Linked DNA regions of Homo sapiens: region 1 is linked to region 2. The links are contacts of gene promoters, found by promoter capture Hi-C in blood cells and fetal thymus (Javierre and others, 2016). All regions are on one chromosome and are shown on one strand. The core of a region is centred on a gene start or on the middle of the fragment in contact, and the rest is flanking DNA. Distances in the headings are between cores, read along the strand shown. Region 1 has its middle 18 kb from the start of SPATA3-AS1. Region 2 holds the start of GCSIR (GPR55 cis regulatory suppressor of immune response RNA).

Evidence for each region. Contacts are between HindIII fragments. The CHiCAGO score rates a contact against its expected background, and 5 or more counts as called.
Region 1: a contact is called between a fragment that was not itself captured here and the fragment with the promoter of GCSIR in region 2, in 5 of 17 cell types (M2 macrophages, M0 macrophages, M1 macrophages and 2 more). The highest score is 7.6, in M2 macrophages.

The regions. Positions count from the first base shown.
Region 1 is chr2:230,974,794-230,982,163 of GRCh38, forward strand. No RefSeq gene overlaps it. Among named protein-coding and RNA genes, the nearest start is that of SPATA3-AS1, 18 kb to the right of the region's middle. RefSeq lists enhancers at 1,052-1,171, 2,276-2,325, 6,957-7,096. The HindIII fragment of the contact is 9,305 bases long and covers 499-7,370 here.
Region 2 is chr2:230,884,266-230,891,870 of GRCh38, forward strand. It overlaps GCSIR (GPR55 cis regulatory suppressor of immune response RNA), which reads left to right and starts at 2,281. Exons shown (of 4, transcript NR_038238.1): 1 at 2,281-2,704. RefSeq lists an enhancer at 1,644-1,713. The HindIII fragment of the contact is 18,371 bases long and covers 1-7,605 here.

The sequences.
Region 1 (7,370 bases), core at 3,901-6,400, 93 kb after region 2:
ACAAGGCACAGACGTTTATTTGGCTCATGGTTCTGGAGCTGGGAAGTCCAAGAGCGTGGTGCTGGTATCTAGTGAGGGCCATCCCATGGCGGAAGGCATCACGTCGTGAGAGAGAACACACGCGAGAGGAAGGAAAGAGGGGCAGAATTCCCTGATTTTATATCTAAGTCACTCCTGTGACAGCTAATCCAGTACCCCAATAATGGCCTGAATCCACTCATGAGAGCTGTGTTCCCATGACCTAATCACCACTTAAACGTGCCACTTCTCAACATTGTTGCACTGGCAATTAAGTTTCCAACACATGAACTTTGGGGGACACATTCAAACCACAGCACTTAGAATATAACAGGATTGCCCCCCTACAGCCATGAGTCCCTTGGATCACCAAGTTAATGTAACAATAACAAAGTCTAATATGATTTACAGGAAATTGGAAGCTTTAAGTAGCCTCGTGAAGCCAAAGGGCAGCATTAGAGCATATCTTTTGACACCCGAAGCTTGTGTCAAAAAGGGTATTAACAGTTGACCGCCTCACACCCACGAGGATGACTATAATTTTTTAAATGGAAAATAACCATTGGCAAGGATGTGGGAAAACCGGAACCCTCCTACTTTGCTTGTGAAAAATGTAAAACGGTGCAGCTGATGTGGAAATCAATTTGTTGGTTCATCAAAAATTTAAACATGGGGCCAGGTGCAGTGGCTCACGCCTGTAATCCCAGCACTTTGGGAGGCCAAGGCGGGCAGACCACGAGGTCAGGAGTTCGAGACCAGCCTGGCCAACATTATGAAACCCCGACTCTACTAAAAATACAAAAATTAGCCTGGCGTAGTGGCACATGCCTGTAGTCCCAGCTACTCGGGAGGCTGAGGCAGAAGAATCGCTTGAACCCGGGAGGCAGAGGTTGCAGCGAGCTGAGGTCATGCCACTGCACTCCAGCCTGGGTGACAGAGTGAGACTTTATCTCAAAAAAAAAAAAAAATTTAAACATGGAGTTTCCATATGACCCAGAAGTCCCATTTCTAGTATGTACCCAGAAGAATAGAAACACAGGTTAAAACAGTGACCAAAATGTAAAAACAGCCCAGCTGTCCATAAGCTGTAAATGGATAAACTAGACTGTAGTACATTCATAAAACGGAATATTTCATCATAAAAAGAAGGCACTACCAACGCATGCTGCAGCTTGGATGAACCTAAGTGAAAGAAGCCAGACACAAAAGGACACATATTGTATGATTTCATATGTATGAAATATCCAGGATAGGCAAATCCATTCGAGACGGAAAGTAGGTTGGTGGTTGCCAGGGCCTGGGGGAGGGGGAAATGGGGCGTGGTTTTTTAATGTGTATGAGGTTTCCTTTGGGGGTGATAAAAATGTTATGGTTGAATGAGACGGTGAACGTACTGAAGCCACTGGATGTACACTTTAAAATGGTTAAAGTGGGCCGGGTGCGGTGGCTCTGCCTGAAATCCCAGCACTCTGGGAGGCCGAGGCAGGTGGGTCGTCTGAGGTCAGGAGTTCAAGACCAGCCTGGCCAAAACGGCGAAACCCCACTTCTACCAACAATACAAAAATTACCTGGGCATGGTGATGCATGCCTGTAATCCAAGCTACTCGGGAGGTTGAGGCAGGAGAATCGCTTGAACTCGGGAGGCCAAGGTTACAGTGAGCCGAGATTGCGCCACTGCACTCCAGCCTGACAGAGCAAGACTCTGTCTCAAAAAAAAAAGAAAGAAAGAAAGAAAGAAAGAAAAATAAATGGTTAAAGTGGCAAATTTTATGCTATATAAATTGTGCCTTAATTTTTGAAAAGTTTACACTTTGAGTGAGGCAAGTGTTTGGCACAGAAACCACTTCTCTCCTGGCAACACTTCATAATCCTCCAGTGGCAAAGCCCCTCTCCGCAAACCCATCTCTCAAGCCACGCACGTCCCAAGAGACACAAGAACACTAGAGGCCAGACAGGAGGGGACAGCCTGCATTGTGTCCTTCACCCTTATTTGGACCTTCGCCCTATTGCCTTCTCACACTCTCAGAATCCAGAGGTCATGCCAGTTCAAAAGGAGCCGGTATCATGGAGACTGGGGCTCAGAAACCAATACCCCCAAATATGGCTCTGTGACATGCTGAACTGAAGAAGAAGCCACAAGATTTCTCTGACCTCCCCCAACCCCCGCCTCTGTCTCAGTCTGTCTCTCTCAAAGCACAGAATGAGGTTGTTCTCTGAAGTTCCCTTATCTGCCTAAAGCCCAGACTCACTAAAGAAGAAAACAATTACTCCTGGTCCCTTCCTAAATTTTCATGAACTGAACTCATATCCAGGAAGAAAGACTGACATCTATCAACACAGCTAGGCAGACTTTTGTCACAAACCGTTGTATACTCTGCAGGCACAACAGACTTTGTCCCAGGCCATTGTATGTTCTTCAAGCCCATTGAATTTCTCTAAAAATCACTTAAACTAAAATCATCCACACTGCCCCATCTCCCTTTCCCCTAAGAAGAAGGGTATATAAGCATATGTACCCCGCTGGGTTATCGAATAATCACTCTGCTACAGTTCCCCATGCTTGACACGTTAAAATAAATTCATAGTGTTTTATCTAATTAACCTGCCTTTTGTGAGTTGATTTTTGTGCAAACTTTCTGAGAGCGAAGGGGAAGTTTTCACGGGTATTGCATGGTCTTCTGAAATAACTAGCATTAATATAGATTAGACAAAAACCAACCCTGAACAGGTTCCATGTGACAGCAGAATGTTCTGAAATGGGAAGGAATGAATGTGAGCATGAGAGGTCTGTGTGAACGGATAATGAGGTTCGGGGTAAGATGCAAAGGAGGATATATATTATACCATCTTTCATATGGAAAGAAGAGAAAATGAATACGTGTATGTGTTATTTTTGTGAAAAGAAATACAGTATTAAACAGACACTAATGGAAGGCATTCACCGTGGAGGTGGGAAGGAATGGGGTAGAAGGGATAGGAACGGCAGTGAGGCTTCTCTTGTATATCTCATATCATTGTCACTTTTTATTTTTTTATTTTTTCAGAGACGGGGTCTCGCTCTCTCACCAAGGTTGGAGTGCAGTGGCTCACTGGAGCCTCAGCCTCCTGGGCTCAAGCAATCCTCCTGCTTCAGCCTCCCAGTGGCACACGCCACCGTACCCAGCTATTTATTTATTTATTTATTCATTTATTTATTTATTTATTTATTTTTGTAGAAATGAGGTCTTCCTACGTTGCCCAGGCTGGTCTCAAACTCCTGGGCTCAAGCAATTCTCCCACCTCGGCCTCCCAAAGTGCTGGGATTACAGGTGTGAGCCACTATTCTCAACCCATTTTTACTTTTTAACTACATAAATGTTTCACGTATTTTAAAAATAAAATTAAATGTTAAAAAGGTGGGATAAAGAATACCCTACAATAGAATGCAAAAGAAGGAAATCAAACTGATAACGCCTCAAACTGATACCACAACCACACAGAGCAAACACTCTGATTGTGGAGAAGGATCTGTTCTAAGAACAGAAGAACTATAGAAAAACTTCTATTTAGTATGTTTACTGTTAGCAGTAATATTGGTCTTGTAATTCTGAAACTCTTTTGTGCATGTATAGTGGAAAGCAAATAAGCAAATATATATTTTACTGACGGGGAAAAAAGATACTAGTAGTCAGTAAAGAAGTGAAAGAAAAACTGTAATGTTAAATTTGAGTAGGAAATATATCAGTTTGAACTTGTAATTTTTTTTAAAATGAGTTTTCTAATCCTGTCCACTGAATGACAGCCGAGTAGCAATGATCGCATATATCACCAGGTTCTTTCTTTCTCTATACCATTCACCACTAAAGGCACCAGGGCTCGTTAGAGAAATGGTAGATTCTAGGTCAGGGGTGAAAATGTACAACGTGAGCATGGAATCTCTTGTCACACCAGAAAGCAAAACAGTTTTGGAAGATAAATGTGATCATGTCAAAAGGATTCAGGAGCTGACCTGAGGGCTCCCACTGCTCAAATGTGGGATGATTTGAACATCAAAATGAATAACTGTAGTTTCAATTATAGCATTTTTAAAACTCCACGAACCCACAGTGATTAATGTTTTTAATATAGTGGGATTTGGAAATTCTTACAGAAAAAAAGGCCAGCTAGTAAATGTAGCAGGAATAAAAGAATGAAAAACTACCATTTTCCAACCTCCAATGTAATGCTTCCTTCAGGTAAGCATCACCAAGAGTTGCCAAAACTGTTTGGTGACTTGGATATTCAGTTAATCCTGTGACCATGTGAAGATTCTAAAAATTACTTACAAAAGGGGAAGCAGAGTGAGGATTAGTGATCAAACTCAGAATGACCAAGAGTGGCTGACATTATGTACTCCAGATGTGATGCCTGACATTATTTACTCCAGATGTGATACCTGACATTATTTACTCCAGATGTGATACTGACATTATGTACTCCAGATGTGATACCTGACATTATTTACTCCAGATGTGATACCTGACATTACTTACTGCAGAAGTGATACTGACATTATTTACTCCAGATGTGATGCCTGACATTATTAACTCCAGATGTGATGCCTGACATTATTTACTCCAGTTGCGATACTGACATTATTTACTCCCGATGTGATACCTGATGTTATTTACTCCAGATGTGATACTGATGTTTTTTACTGCAGATGTGATACCTGACATTATTTACTCCAGATGTGATACTGACATTATTTACTCCAGATGTGATGCCTGACATTATTTACTCCAGATGTGATAACTGACATTATTTACTGCAGATGTGATACTGACATTATTTATTCCAGATGTAATGCCTGACATTATTTACTCCAGGTGTGATACTGACATTATTTACTGCAGATGTGATACCTGACATTATTTACTCCAGATGTGATATTGACATTATTTACTCCAGATGTGATACTGACATTATTTACTCCAGATGTGATACCTGACATTATTTACTCCAGATGTGATGCCTGACATTATTTACTCCAGATGTGATACTGACATTATTTACTCCAGATGTGATACTGACATTATTTACTCCAGATGTGATACTGACATTATTTACTCCAGATGTGATACCTGACATTATTTACTCCAGATGTGATAACTGACATTATTTACTCCAGATGTGATAACTGACATTATTTACTCCAGATGTGATAACTGACATTATTTACTCCAGATGTGATATTGACATTATTTACTCCAGATGTGATGCCTGACATTATTTACTCCAGATGTGATGCCTGACATTATTTACTCCAGATGTGATGCCTGACATTATTTACTCCAGATGTGATAACTGACATTATTTACTCCAGATATGATACTGACATTATTTACTCCAGATGTGATACTGACATTATTTACTCCAGATGTGATACTGACATTATTTACTCCAGTTGTGATGCCTGACATTATTTACTCCAGATGTGATATTGACATTATTTACTCCAGATGTGATACTTGACTGAGAAGTCTACAGTGGCACCTATGCAGTACAGAACTCTGGCCAAAGATATTCAACCTGCATCTAATCTTGTGTAAGCAATCAGATTAACCCACATATGGGACACTCTACAAGACAACTGTCCTGGACTCTTTATCAAAAACTAATTTCACATAAACAAAGAACAACAACAACAATAAAAAGGTGAAAGACTGTTTCAGATGAAAAGAGACTGAAGAGCCATAACAACCAAATATCATACATGATCTTGATTGGATCCTGGATAGGAAAAAAAAATCCAGCATTAAAAGCTCTTCCGGGGACAACTGTAGAGATTTGAATACAGATAGTACACTGGGTGCTATTATGGTTGTGATCATGGTATTGTGGTTTTGTGGGAGAATATCCTTATTAGGAGATGCTGAGATATCTAGAAGTGAAGTGTCAAGATGTCAGCAACTTGCTTTCAAATTGCTCAGCAAAATAAAAGTATGTGGAAATATACAAAGACAGAGAGAGACCAACAGAGACAAAGCAATTGTGGCAAAATGTTAACAGTTGGAGAATCCAGGGTAAGTTCATTGTACTCTTCTTTGAACTTTTCAGAATGTTTGAAAATTTCAAAATAAAATGTGAGGGGGAGGGGAGGGAGTTGCAGGGTGGATAGAGAAGGTTGGGATAGAGCTAGCTGCCAGACCCAAACCATCTGCCACCAACACAGGGAGTTTAAAATGGCCCTCTAAATTACAATAGACTCATCTTCGTTTTGAAATCTTCCTAGGACGGGTGCAGAGGCTCATGTCTGTAATCCCAGCTACTCAGGAGTCTGAGGCACAAGAATCACTTGAACCTGGGAGGCGGAGGTTGGAGTGAGCCTCGATCATGCCACTGCACTCCAGCTGGGGTGACAGAGCAAGACTCTGTCTCAAAAAAAAAAAAAAAAAAAGAAAAAGAAAAACAGAAATCTTCCTAAAAGGAAGAGAAAGCTATACTACACTTTCCTCGAACCTCAAAGCCCCCACTGCTTATAGAAACTTTGAACCCAGTACCCACTGGAAAATAATGAATGGGAAACACACCTGGTAAACACAGTCCAGGTAGAGAGGAAGAGCCTCCCGATGCCCCCAGCCCTGGGTAGGAATCACCAAACCCTACCCCCCAGTTACCAGGCCTGTGAAGCCTCTGGCTTGTCCCAGCTTTGCACTCTTATGGGGAGGGGTGGGGAGAGCCCATCTACCACGCCCGTGTGTCTCCTGTCTTATCATCTAGGACATTCTTACATGGACCTCAGGCACTACTGGGGAAGGCTTTATTCCTTTTCAACACCATCCTCACTCAAAACTGCATTCCTTCATTCATTTGCTTATTTATTCAATGATTTGGCAAGTATTTATTGAACACCAGTGATGCACGAGGCACTGTTTTAGGAACCAGGGACACGACAAGGAATAAGCAGCCGTGGCATCTGTCTTCTGCGGAGCTCACAGGCAAATTGCAACTGTGACAAGTACCACAAAGGGGAGGAACAAGGTGCCCATCAAAGCTGGTGGCATTTGTGTGACAAGCAGGAAATACAATCAACAGGCTTTGGGGATGGGCTGGGTTTGGCGGACGATGAGAAGGAGTGTCAAGAGACACTCCCAGGGTTCTGACTAGTATAATTGGACAGGCAGTGGTGTTCTTCACCAGGACATCCTGGAAGAGGCCTGCAGTGGAGAAAGAGGCGACTCACACCCATGCAGGCCACGGGAGCACAGGTCAGGCACGGAAAGGAGAGGCCTGGGATGTGGTGTGGGTGGGTGGATTGCCTGTGGATTGGTGGTTATGGAAGTTATGTGTAGCAGGGGCCTGTTTTGCGCCTCCACCAGAAACTTCTGCCA
Region 2 (7,605 bases), core at 1,031-3,530:
CATGAACATGGTATTTTTAAAATCTGCATTGTTAATGTCTTCCAACATAGTTTTATACTTTCCTCAGTAGGGGTCTTACAAATCTTTCATTACATTGATTCCTATGTCCCTTATATTTGTTGTTATGATGTTTAATAATTATACCTTTGTTGCCAATGTGTAGAAGTATAATTTATTTTTGAGTATTGATCCAGCAAACTTGCCGGGCTGTCTTTCTTATTCCACAAAGTTCTCTGAGGAAATTTTTTTTTTTTTTTTTTTTTTTGAGACAGAGTCTCACTCTATCACCCAGGCTGGAGTACAATGGTACAATCTAGGCTCACTGCAACCTCCGCCTCTAGGGTTCAAGCGATTCTCCTGCTTCAGCCTCCCGAGTAGCTGGAATTACAGGCCCATGCCACTACACCTGGCTAATTTTTGTCTTTTTAGTACAGACGGGGTTTTGCCATGTTGGCCAGGCTGGTCTCGAACTCCTGACCTCAAGTGATCCACCTGCCTCAGCCTCCCAAAGTGCTGGGATTACAAGCGGGAGCTACAGTGCCCAGCCTTGTGCTTTGTAGACAAGCAATTCTGGTAACTGATTATGAGTAAATTTTGTTTCTTCCATTCAAATAATTAAAACTTTTATTTATTTTTCTTGTGCTATCTTACTGGGTAGGAGCTCTGGCACCATGGTGATAGCCACAAATCTTGTTTTGTTCTTGATTTAAAAGGAAATTCACCTTGAATATAGTTTAGCTGTAAATATTAGAAGAATACTCTTTGAGATTTAAGAAGTTCTCTATTCTTAGTTTTCAAAGTGTTTTTATTTTTAATCAAGGATTGATATTAAATTGTTTTATCAAATGTTTTTTCTGCATCTATTCATATGTTTGCATATCTGTTAATGTGGCGAATATTGCTAACTGATTTAGTCATGAGGTATTTTCTTATATCTATGCTACTGGATTCCATTTGCTAACATTTTGTTTAGGAATTTTAGATATATGTTTTTTGTAACATTGGCCTGTAATGGGAGTAAATTAGTTTGACAAAATCAAATTTTAAAATGCAATGTTTTTGGCCCAGAATGTATCCTATGGATGTACTCCATAGGATATGCAAAAGTATATGTACAAGCATATTTATTGTTATAATAGCAAGAAACTAAAGACAAATGTCCTTTAGTTGGAGACTTGGTATTTTAAAAAAGTACAGTATTTTGTTGCTATTACAAAGAATGAGGTAGATCTATTTGTGCTGATGTGTAAAGTTCTCCGAAATCTATAATTAGGGTAAAGCAGGTGGCAAGAGCAAGAATATATATTTATCTCTATCCCGTTTGTGAATTTTTTAAGTGATAGCGCTATGGCTGTGCATGTGCTATTTCTGGAAGCGCACTCAAAGCCTTGTAACACCAGTTCCCTCTGGAGAGCAGGGATGGCAGGAAGCTGTAGGACTACGTCTCTTTCTACACCTTTTTATAATTCATAAGCATGAGCATGTATTGGTCTCTGTACACCTGCCCCTGGGCTTGAGGAGGCCCTGCTGGCTGCAATGTCTCACTTTCACCTAACTGCACGGAGTCTCAGCCACTTCCCTCCAGCCCTCGAGGACTGTCACCCATCCTAGAATGGAGGCCTTGCATTAGGCCCGGGTTTGGCCAGAAGAATAGAGCAGTTGGAAATGTTAAGTTGACATAAATAGGAAGCTCTGTAACCTCGTGCAAGTGTTGTCTTGGAAACCAGAGCCTGGGCGGTCTCCATGGAAACCGTGCTCAGCCTTCTGCCTGAAGGAGTTACCACCCACTGGTGCTGGAGTGTTACTTATCAGGGACCTCAGAGCTCCAATAACTGCTTAGGGAATGATGATGGACTGGTCCCTGCCCACCCTGGCCATGTCAGGTGTGGGGCCCTGGGCACCTCCAGCTCTCTGCCTGGGAAAGAAAAAGAGCCCATTTCCATGGGACGTGCCCTCATGGGGAGGCACAGCAGACCACCCAAGGCAGCACATGCAGTGTCCCCGAAGTAAGGAGGGAGTCCTGTGTCCCGAGGTCCCGGGGATCTGGACTCTGCCATTGTCCCCTGGTGCATCTGTACAGCTGTGGTGGGCTAACATCATCTCTGGGCTCCAACTTGCCCTTCTGTAAAATGGGGAGTTTGGACCAAGTCATTCTGAAGGTCTTTTCCAGCTTTAATGACACGTGTTTTGCATGTGACCTGGCAGCACAGGGTTCAGAGGAGGGAGAGATCAGAGTGACTAGTGCAGGCTTCCTGGGGAACCATTTGAGCTTTGAAGGTGGGGAAGAGGAATGTCAGAGAGTGGGCAAAATACAACAGGAAAGGTCCAAATTCACCCTCTGAGGGCCCGGGGCACGGGGGCAGCCTGCTCTCCTCCTGGGGCCCTGTTCCCTGTGGGGACTGGAAGAGAGGCTTTGAGTCTAGGGCCTGGGGCAGCCAGGACTGACGGGGGTGCAGTCCTAGAAGGGTCGGCAGTCACGGTGGCCCACCATGGCATCTCCGTATCCTTGCTGCATGCTGCACCCACTCCAGCTGCCAGAGCACGGAGGCAGAGACGTGGGAGCCGATGAAGGTCGCACGCCAGCCTCCCACCTGTGAGACAAAGGGCCCTGTCACTGGAAGCCACGTCCAGCCTGGCCCCGCAGGAGCCAGGGCTCTGCGCCTAACGGAGGACTGATGGGAAAGGGAAGGCTGGCAGCAGTGAGGTAATGGGGTGGGGGGTGGGGGTGGGAGGCAGGGGGAGGTGGGGAGGACAGGGAGGGGAGGGAGGGAAGGGGAGGGACTTTAGCCAGCACGCTTGTCCCACACTGAGCGAGTGCCCACAGTGTTCAAGCAGTCAGTATGCCAGCAGTTTTTCATTGATTACTTTTGTTCGTGTCTCGCGTTATCTCTGGGGTGAGTATGAATTTCATAGCCACAAACTCAGGTGTCCAAAGTATCTTTATTGGTATCTTTATTTTTCTATAATAGTGTGTTTTGTGTAATAATCTAGTTTTCAAACCTTCCCTTAGTCTAGTGGCAGAATGTGTAATCTTGATATTTTCTAGGTAAACTCGGTCATCACTTCAGTTTGCCCTTTTCAAAGATATTAATTTTTGCCCTCCCTTCCCCACCAGGGGCCAATCATCTGAATCACGTTCCTGTATTCAGGATTTGCCCCTCCAAAACAGTTTTGATGGGAGACACCAGCCACCTACTATTATGCAGCCATGCACCACATAACGACGTTTCAGGCAACAATGACTGCACATACCACAGTGGTCCCGTAAAATTACAATGGAGCTGAAAAATTCCTATTGCCTAGTGACGTCACAGCCATTGTAAGGTCAGAGTGCAACACATCACTCATGTGTTTGTGTTGATGCTGCTGTAAACAAACCTACCGCACTGCCAGTCATATAAAAGTATAGCCCATACAATTATGTGTAGTACTTAATACTTAATAATAATAAACAACTATGTTGCTGGTTTACGTATTTACTACACTGTGTTTTTAATTGCTAATAAGAGTGTACTCTTTTTAGTTATTAAAAAAAAAGTTAACTGTAAACAGACTCAGCAGATCCTTCAGGAGGTTTCCAGAAGAAGGCATTGTCATCATAGGAGGTGACAGCTCCATGCATGCATTGCCTCTGAAGTCCTTCCAGTGGGACAGGATGTGGAGGTGGAGATGGTGATACTGATGGTCCTGACCCTATGTAGGCCTAGGCTCATGTGTGTGTTAGTGTCTAGTTTTTAACTAAAAAGTTTAAAAGTTAAAAAAAAAATTTTTAATAGAAAAAAAGGGGGACTGGGCGTGGTGTAATCCCAGCACTTTGGGAGGCCGAGGCAGGCGGATCACCTGAGGTCAGAAATTCGAGATCAGCCTGGCCGACATGGTGAAGCCCCGTCTCTACTAAAAACACAAAAATTAGCTGGGCGTGGTGGTGCGCACCTGTAATCCCAGCTACTTGGGGGGCTGAGGGAGGAGAATAGCTTGAACCCAGGAGGCGGATGTTGCAGTGAGCCGAGACACACCATTGCACTCCAGCTTGGGTGACAAGAGGGAGACTCTGCCTCAAAAAAAAAAAAAAAGAACAAAAGACTAAGGGTACAAAGAAAATACTTTGTGAAGCTCTATGTGTTGGTGTTTTATGCTAAGTATTATTATAGAAAAGTCCAAAGGTTTTTAAAAATTGAAAAGTTTATAAAGGAAAAAAAAGGTACAGTAAGCTAAGGTTACATTACTATTGAGGAAAGAAAAAATCTTCCGTAAATGTGGTGTAGCCTAAATGTACAGCGTTTACAAAGTCTACAGCAGTGGTCGGTAATGTCCCAGGCCTTCCCATTCACTCACCAACCACTCACTGACTCACCCAGAGCAACCTCCAGTCCTGCAAGCTCCATTCATGGTAAGCGCCTTACACAGGTGTACCATATTTTTATTTTTCCTACCATATTTTGAACGATATTTTTCTATGTTTAGATACACCATTGTGTTGCGATTGCCTACAGTATTCAGTACAGAAACATGCTGCACAGGCTTGTGGCCTAGGAGCAACAGGATAACCCGTATAGCCCAGGTGTGCAGTAGGCTATGCCATGTAGGCTAACATGTATAGCCCAGGTGTGCAGTAGGCTATGCCATGCGGGTTTGTGTAAGTGCACCCTACGATGTTCACACAATGAAACTGCCTGACAATGCATTTCTCAGGACATATCCCTGTTGTTAAGCTGAATCTGTTTTTCCCAGTGCCCCTTGGGGCTGGAGTCAAGCATGTGACCAGGCTCAGCCAATCAGATGTTTCCTCTCTGTATTAGTCCATGTTCACACTGCAATGAAGATTCTACCTGAGACTGGGTAATTTAGAAAGGAAAGAGGTTTAATTGACTCACGGTTCCACGTGGCTGGGGAGGCCTCTGGAAACTTACCATCGCGGCCGAAGGCGAAGGGGAAGCAAGGCACGTGTTAGTCTCACATGTGGCAGGAGAGAGAGAGAGAGCACGGCGGGGAAGTGCCAGACACTTATCAAACAACCAGAACTCATGAGTGACGACTCATGGGAGAAACTGCCCCCCGATCCAATCACCTCCCACCAGGCTCCTCCCTTGATGCGGGGATTACAATGTGAGATGAGATTTGGGTGGGGACAAAGAGCCATACCATATCACACCCAGACCATGCCATAGGGACAAGTGACTCAGGAAGGGGGACAGTGAAAAATGCATCCTGGTAGAGGGGACAACAGCAACACAGAGTCTCGTGGGCATCAGGAAGGTGGTGGCATCATCTCCACATTCTGGAGCCCGCGGTTCCCTTTGTGGTCTCCCAATTGCTGAAGTGGTTTCTCCAGCCCACCCAGTGACTCTGAGCCACCCAGTGTCCCGTCAATCAATTCCTTTCTTCCTAAATTCACCAGAATTGTTCCCAGTGTTTGTGTCACAGTTTTATTGAACACGGGAGCCTTGTGGGGTGTAATCCGAAAACAATTCTTTCTCCCACTACCTTTTCAAGCCTGGTCGGTGGGTTGGGTTCTCCTCTGACCTTGGATGAAATTGAAGGTAGGTTTCTTGGTTTTTCTGGTCCATCCAAGATAATAAAAATCCCTTGGGTAACTTTTATTCACACAAATCCAATTTCAGTAATTACAACATCTAACTATCAAAACAGTTGAAACTCCAGATGGCATTTGAAGTTAAAACCACTCCCTTGCCCCATCCCAGACCTGCCCACATGGGAAGCCTACAAGGCGCGTGGGGAGCTTGGCGGGTTTCTCCTCCATGCCCCTGCCTCATGCTTCTACTTTTCCTCCCCTTCACTAGGCTCCTCGGCGCCTCCAAGTTTGGGACAGTAGCGTGAGGGCTTGGCGTCGGGCGTCGGAGCAGGAGAGGTCACTAGTTGTCTTAGTCGGTGTGTGTTGCTGTAAAGGAACACCTGAGGCTGGGGAATTTATAAGGAAAACGGGCTTATTTGGTTCACGATTCTGCTGGCTGGAAGACTGGGCATCTAGTGAAAGCCTCGGGCTGCTTCCACTCGTGGCAGAAGGCGAACAGAGCTGGCGTGAGATCACACGCAGAGATCATGTGGAGAGAGAGGAAGCAAGAGAGACACGGGAGGCAAAGGTTCTTTTTAACAACCAGCTCTCGTGGGAACTAACGGAGTGAAACTCACTTGCCTCTGTAGGAGGGCAATAATCTATTCATGAGGGTTCCAACCTATGACCAGAACACCTCCCATTAGGCCCCACCTCCAACATTGATCCAAACTGTAGCACTAGCATCACCAGTTCACCCTCCCTCAGGTGGATGCTCCATGAGAGTCCCTGGTCCCCGTCCTCACCACTAGCTGCACCTCAATGCAGGCAAACTCTCCCTCAGCTTCATTTTCTTGGACTGGATCTAAGTAACTCAGACCAGCTTCTGAAACATTCACACACCCTTTGATGCTACAGAATCCAGCAGAATGGGTTATTTGCTGGCACACACCTCTTCTTGTCCTGTGCTCCAAGCAACAAGCAGGCAGCTCCAGCCACAGCCTCTCACTACTTGCTTCCCCAGGGGCTTGGCCCCCACCCAGTCCACAGGGCTCCCTTCCAAATTACTCCCAGGCCCCATGTCCAGGTCTCCCAGCAGTCTCAGTGAAGCCCCTCTCACTAGGCATAAGGCAGAGTGGTGGTGCGCCGGACTCTGTGATCATTCTCTCCTTAGAAATGTTCTCTCTGGCTGGCACTGTGGCTCCCCCCTGTAATCCCAGCAGTTTGGGAGGCCGAGGCACGAGGATCACTTGAGGCCAGGAGTTCAAGAACAGCCTGGGAAACACAGGCCATTTAAATTTTTTGTCTGTACAAAAAAATTTAAAAATCAGCTGGGCATGGTGATATGTACCTGTAGTCCTGGCTACTTGGGAAGACTGCTTGAGCCTGGGAGCTCGAGGCTGCAGTGAGCCATGATCTCACCACTGCACTCCACCCTGGGTGACAGAGTGAAACTGTCTCTAAAAAAGAAAAAAAAAAAGAAATGTTCTCTCTATTTGGCCTTCAGTTAGCAGCCAGGAGTGGAGGATGGGCAAGAGTTGCACAGTTGGTTTGAGGTCGCCTCCTTTGCACGTCCTTTATTTTGGAATGTCTGACTCATGGGCACAATCCCCCTCTTTTCTCAGATCCCTGAGGGGCTGACAAGTCTCTTCCTTGGAGCTAACCCCCGGTGATGGGGGCGTAGAGGACCCAAGGACCCCCCACCCCATTCCTGCTACCTCACCAGCATCTGATTTCTTTTTCCCTGGACTTGTGAAGTCTTTATCTAGACTTGGGGGAGGAGATGTGGGGAAAGGGAAAAGGAAAGGAAAGCCTCATTAGGTGGACAGATGGTTTAGGTCTTACAGTTCCCCCAGCGGGCATCTGGGGCAGCTGGTTCTAAGTGGAGGAGGGGCTGCCACGGGGAGTCTGAACCTGAGGCCACCTGCACCCCCCTAACCCTCAGCTGAGCTGGGAGTTCAGGGAACAGGACGTGAAAGGAAGTTGAGCAGCCGCAACCTGGGGTGAAGGCTCAGAGCTTTGGATGATACCCTATGCGTCAGTGGTGGTAGAACAGCCCCGAGGCTTGGTGGCAAGACAGTGGGCTCTGGACC